Linked DNA regions of Homo sapiens: region 2 is linked to region 1. The links are contacts of gene promoters, found by promoter capture Hi-C in human tissues and cell types (Jung and others, 2019). All regions are on one chromosome and are shown on one strand. Each heading gives the region's core, a stretch centred on a gene start or on the middle of the fragment in contact. The rest is flanking DNA. Distances are from core to core; before and after follow the strand shown.

Region 1 (2,959 bases), core at 257-2,756:
ACAGTGAGGGTGGGAAGGAGCCTGATGCAGGGAGTGAGGCGCAGGACAGTGAGGGTGGGAAGGAGCCTGATGCAGGGAGTGAGGAGCAGGACAGTGAAGGTGGGAAGGAGCCTGATGCAGGGAGTGAGGAGCCGGACAGTGAGGGTGGGAAGGAGCCTGATGCAGGGAGTGAGGAGCTGGACAGTGAGGATGGGAAGGAGCCTGATGCAGGGAGTGAGGAGCAGGACAGTGAGGGTGGGAAGTGGCCTGATGCAGGGAGTGAGGCGCAGGACAGTGAGGGTGGGAAGGAGCCTGATGCAGGGAGTGAGGAGCAGGACAGTGAGGGTGGGAGGCGGCCTGATGCAGGGAGTGAGGAGCCGGACAGTGAGGGTGGGAGGCGGCCTGATGCAGGGAGTGAGGAGCAGGACAGTGAGGGTGGGAAGTGGCCCGATGCAGGGAGTGAGGCGCAGGACAGTGAGGGTGGGAAGGAGCCTGATGCAGGGAGTGAGGAGCCGGACAGTGAGGGTGGGAAGGAGCCTGATGCAGGGAGTGAGGAGCCGGACAGTGAGGGTGGGAAGGAGCCTGATGCAGGGAGTGAGGAGCAGGTGTGAGGGCGGGAAGCGGCCTGATGCAGGGAGTGAGGAGCAGGACAGTGAGGGTGGGAAGGGGCCTGATACAGGGAGTGAGGAGCAGGACAGTGAGGGTGGGAAGGAGCCTGATGCAGGGAGTGAGGAGCCGGACAGTGAGGGTGGGAAGCAGCCTGATCTTTGCACGGGCTGCCAGGCTTCTGGTTCATACAGCCCCAGGTCAGTTTCCAGAACCCTCGCTCTTGGGTAGGGGAAAGAGACATTGCTCTGGAGTGGCAGGACGGTGGGAGAAGTTGAGTCCCTCTCATTTCTCCTCCCTCACCCCCTGCCTTCCATCCCAGTCTGAAGGCAGCCAACCTGATCCTGGGCTTGGAAGGTTGGGGGTGGGCTTCCTATCCTGGGCTCTCTGCATAGGCTCTTGTGGCTTCCCCTTTCCTCCCCTCAGGAGCGGGAGGCAGCTCTCTGGGAGAAGAAAGGACATTGGGAGTGAGAATCTGGATGTGCCTCAGCCCAGCTCTGTGTCCTTGGGCAGGTCACATGGCCTCTCTGAGCCTGGCTGAACCAGGGATAATCCACACCTCGTGGGGTCTCTGGAAGGCTTAACACAGTGCTAGGTTCCTGTGCTTTCTGGATCCGCCCTCTTGGCTAGCCAGATCCAGTCTCTTCAACTCTCTCCTCCTGAACTTTCTCTTTCCAGGCTCGGGGGGGGGGACCCAAATATAGGGGGTTCTGCGTGGCTGCCTCAGGGTTAGATGCCCTGGTGGGAAAGGGGCTTCTGGCTTCAAGATCAATGTTTAACTGGATGTGCAAGTCAATATTTACCAGAAGAGAAAGCAATCTGAACAGGGGTTGGCTGAGAGTAAAGGTCCTGGTGGGAGGGGAGGGGTGGGCTGGGCCAGCTGGAGCCTGGGCAGAGAGTGAGGAGCACCCAAGTGGGGCCAGAGGAACGTTGTGTGTGGCAGCAAGGAGCCCGCAGAGGTATGAGGGGAGGGGCTGCTCGGCCTGCTCCTTGGGTAGGAGAGGAGGAGGGAGCTGCCTCCCTGGCTGAGGGGTCTGGGATTTATTCAGGAGGCCTGTCACTCCCCAGCCTCTTCTGGGACTTGAAAAACTGGAGCCTGTTCTTGGCAAGAAGATTCTAATGCCCAGGTCGGAGTCGGGGCCCTGGCCAAGGGCTCTTGTGTGGGATGGGGGTGGGGCCGGGGGGACCAAAGGATCCTCCAGAAGGGTTGGCCCCAAGATGGGGGTGGGCTGGAGGTAGCTGAGACCTGCTCTGACTTATCCTCCTGAGACCAACACCTGCCCTTCCCAGAGCCAGCCTGGAGCAGAGGCCTGTGATGCTCCTAAGTGCAGAGGTGGCTCTGGCCAGAGTCATTCACTGGGCTCTGCTGCTGGGTCAAAAGGCAGCTCTCTGGCTGCCTTGCCACCCATGGTGAGACCTCAGGGCCTCACAGGTATGTCCAGCCTTGTGGGCAAGACCTGACCAGCCTGAGAAAGACGGGTTGGGGCCAGGCGTGGTGGCTCATGCCTGTCATCCCAGCACTTTGGGAGGCTGAGGCAGGTGGATCACCTGAGGTCAGGAGTTCGAGACCAGCCTGACCAACATGGAGAAACCCTGTCTCTACTAAAAATACAAAATTAGCCAGGCATGGTGGCACATGCCTGTAATCCCAGCTACTCGGGAGGCTGAGGCAGGAGAATCGCTTTAACCCAGGAGGTGGAGGTTGCAGTGAGCCGAGATCGTGCCATTGCACTCCAGCCTGCATGATAAGAATGAAACTCCATCTCAAAAAAAAAAAAAAAAAAAAAAAAGACAGGCTAAATGGATGCAGCAGGCTGGGTAGGAGCTCTGTGTTGGAGCTCTGCGGTGGAGGCTTCAGGGCAGGCTTCCCAGAAGAGGTGGCCTTGAGCCAAGCTGACCCCAGCCATCGGGGGAGTGCCAAGCATTGTACTCAGGGTTTACAAAGATGGTCTTATTTATTTTTTTGAGACAGAGTCTTGCTCTGTCGCCCAGGCTGGAGTGCAGTGGCGTGATCTCGGCTCACTGCAACCTCCGCCTCCCGGGTTCAAGCAGTTCTCTGCCTCAGCCTCCCGAGTAGCTGGGATTACAGGGGCCCACCACCACGCCTGGCTAATTTTGTATTTTCAGTAGAGATGGGGTTTTACCATGTTGGCCAGGCTGGTCTTGAACTCCCGACCTCAGGTGATCCACCTGCCCCTGGCCTCCCAAAGTGCTGGGATTACAGGCTTGAGCCACCGTGCCTGGCCACAAAGATGGTCTTTTGCCGGGTGCAGTGGCTCATGCCTGTAATCCCAGTACTTTGGGAGGCCGAGGCAGGAGGATCACCTGAGGTCGGGAGTTTAAGACCAGCCTGACTAACACAGAGAAACCCCGT
Region 2 (3,173 bases), core at 96-2,595, 150 kb after region 1:
AGCTGGGACTACAGGTGCACACCACCGTGCCCTGACAGATTTTTGTAGAGACTAGGTCTCACTATGTTGCCTGGCTGGTATCGAACTCCTTGGCTTAGGCAATCATGTTGCCTCTGCCTCCCAAAGTGCTGGGATTACAGGTGTGAGCCACTGCACCTGGCCTCTTCTGCAGCTTCCTGACCTCTCTCAGCCTTCACAGAATTGAAGAAAGGTGAGGCCTTGCTCTGGGTTAGGCTTTGGCTTAAGAGAATGTTGTGGCTTGCTTGATATTCTATCTAGACCACTACAGCTTACTCCATATCAGCAGTAAGGCTGTTTGCTTTCTTATTTGTGTATTCAAAGAAGAGAGACAGGAATACTTGATTGGAGGATCAGTCAGCATACATACAACATTCATCAATATAAGTTCCCCATCTTATATGGGTGTAGTTGGTGGCACCCCAGAACAACTACAATAGTGACGTTAAAGATCACTGTAGGCCAGGCGCGGTGGCTCATTCCTGTAATCCCAGCACTTTGGGAGGCTGAGGCAGGCGGATCACCTGAAGTCAGGAGATCGAGACCATCCTGACCAACGTGGTTAAAACCCCGTCTCTACTAAAAATACAAAAATTAGCTGGGCGTAGTGGTGCATGCCTGTAGTCCCAGCTTCTCGGGAGGCTGAGGCAGGAGAATCGTTTGACCCTGGGAGGCGGAGATTTCAGTGAGCTGAGATCATGCCACTGCACTCCAGCCTGGTGACAGAGCGAGACTCCGTCTCAGAAAAAAAAAAAAAATCACCATAACAGATATGATAATAATGAAAAAGGGCCAGGCATGGTGGCTTACTCCTATAATCCTAGCACTTCGGGAGGCCAAGGTGGGTGGATCACTTGAGGTTTGGAGTTCGAGACCAGCCTACCCAACATGGCAAAACCCCATCTCTACTAAAAAATACAAAAATTAGCCAGGCGTGGTAGTGCACGCCTGTAGTCCCAGCTACTTGGGTGGCTGAGGCAGGAGAATCACTTGAACCTGGGAGGTGGAGGCTGCAGTGATCAGAGATTACACCACTCACTGCACCCCAGCCTGGGCGACAGAGCGAGACTCTGTCTCAAAAAATACATATATAATGAAAAAGTTTGAAATCTTGCAAGAATTACTGTCTTTATGTGACACAGAGACATAAAGTGAGCACCTGCTATTGGGAAAATAGTGCATTTACTTGACCCAGGGGTGCCACAAGTCTTCAATCTGTAAAAAATGCCGTATCTGTCAAGTGCAGTAAAGCAAAGCACAATAAAGTGAGGTGTGTCTGTAGTTGCAGCAGAGACTGTGACCAAATGGCTGCTAAGGCCTGAAATATTTACTGTTTGGCTTTTTACAGAAGCAGCTTGCTGATCCCTGGCCTAAACAAGGAAAAGGTGAATCTAGGCCTAGACACGACTGCCGTGTTTTGAGCGCGGGAGGGATGGTTGATCGTTGCTGCACTGGGTGTTTGTGGTCCGCATTCTGTATTTCCTAGATCTGTGGCCTTTGGAGGGTCAGAGGATCGGGAGGAACAAATCTTTGTCTTTCATACAGTGTTCAAGCAAACAGGAAAACAATTTCACTTTTAATTAACTTAGTGTAATTTAGGATTAACTCTTTTATTGTGAAGGAATTATCTGCCTCAGAACTTGGCTTATTAGAACTTGGCTTATTACCTTCATGGGTTTTGTACTCGGCACATGTGATTTCTAAAACTACAGAATGAATGATTCCCTGTGATCATGTGTAATCTTGAGGATGTAGAAACACTTACCACCTAAACGTAAGGGCAGGCTTTGAGCTGCCTCTCGGTCCGATCCTGGGCGGGCTCGCGACTCCGTGCCTCATGCTGTTCTTTTCTCCCGAAGCCGGACTACTTTAGTTCTGTGGCCACAGTGGTGTATCTTCGCAAAGAGAACTGCATGTACCAAGCCTGCCCGACTCAGGACTGCAATAAGAAAGTGATTGATCAACAGAATGGATTGTACCGCTGTGAGAAGTGCGACACCGAATTTCCCAATTTCAAGTACCGCATGATCCTGTCAGTAAGTAGCCTCGGTAGATGAGAACCACGGTTGTGTTCACGGAGGCCCTCCCGTGTGCCAGGCACTGTGGTCACAACAGTAGAGACAAAGCATTCCTGGTAGGAAGCCCGCAGATGAGTAGGTGTGGAAGAGCTTATCCATCCGCTTTTTCATGCCAGAAAGTGGTGTTGAGATACCCCAGCTGATTCAGTCTTTCATGCACGTCATACAGCCATAGCGTCAGTGACACTTGCCTGCTAACTGCTATGAAGATAAATTAATTTGAAAACGGCATTTATAGACAGCACTAATTGTACTTACACAGCCAATGCCCGTATTTAGTCACTTTCATGTGGATAATCTATTCTCTAGCTTTAGTATAGCTGACTTCAGAGGAATGTGACGGTGTGCTGATGTGAGATTGTTGCTTTTTTGCATTTTAAGAATTGTTTCTTTCTGTTTTAAAAACCTTTTTAAAAAAGTTGTAAAGTTGGGTTTAAAAAAATTTTTTTTTTTTTTTAAGAAACAGGGGTCTCACTCTGTTGCCCAGAATAGAGTGCAATGGTATCATCACAGCTCATGGTGGCCCCAACCTCCCGGGCTTAAGCAGTCCTTCCACCTTGGCCTCCCAAGTAGCTGCAACTACAGCTGTGCACCACCACACCCAGCTAATTTTTAAAATTATTTTATTGTAGAGACAGGGTCTCGCTCTGCTGTTCAGGTTGGTCTCAAGTTCCTGGCCTCATGTCATCCTCCCACCTCAGCCTTCCAAAGTGCTGGCATTACAAGCCTGAGCCACTGCACCCGGCCTTAAGATTTTTATTTTGTTTTGTTTTGTTTTCAATGATAGAACTAGGCGATAATAGCAGTTTAAGAAAACAGTTTAAGGCCGGGCACAGTGGCTCACTTTTGTAATCCCAGCACTTTGGGAGGCCGAGGCGGGTGCGTCACCTGAGATCAGGAGTTTGAGACCAGCCTGGCCAACATGGTGAAACCCTGTCTCTACTAAAAATACAAAAATTAGCCGGGCGTGGTGGCGGGTGCCTGTAGTCCCAGCTACTCGGGAGGCTGAGGCAGGAGAATCGCTTGAACCCGGGAGGCAGAGGTTGCAGTGAGCCGAGATCACACCACTGCACTCCA

What was found. Contacts are between HindIII fragments. The study calls those that stand out against the background at their distance.
Region 2: a contact is called between a fragment that was not itself captured here and the fragment with the promoter of SERPINF2 in region 1, in 1 of the 25 tissues and cell types used here (pancreas).

Annotation. Positions count from the first base shown.
Region 1 is chr17:1,741,365-1,744,323 of GRCh38, forward strand. It overlaps SERPINF2 (serpin family F member 2), which reads left to right and starts at 1,507. Exons shown (of 10, transcript NM_000934.4): 1 at 1,507-1,544. The HindIII fragment of the contact is 23,738 bases long and covers 1-2,959 here.
Region 2 is chr17:1,886,798-1,889,970 of GRCh38, forward strand. It overlaps RPA1 (replication protein A1), which reads left to right. Exons shown (of 17, transcript NM_002945.5): 14 at 1,878-2,054. Among named protein-coding and RNA genes, the nearest start is that of RPA1, 58 kb to the left of the region's middle. The HindIII fragment of the contact is 3,558 bases long and covers 1-3,124 here.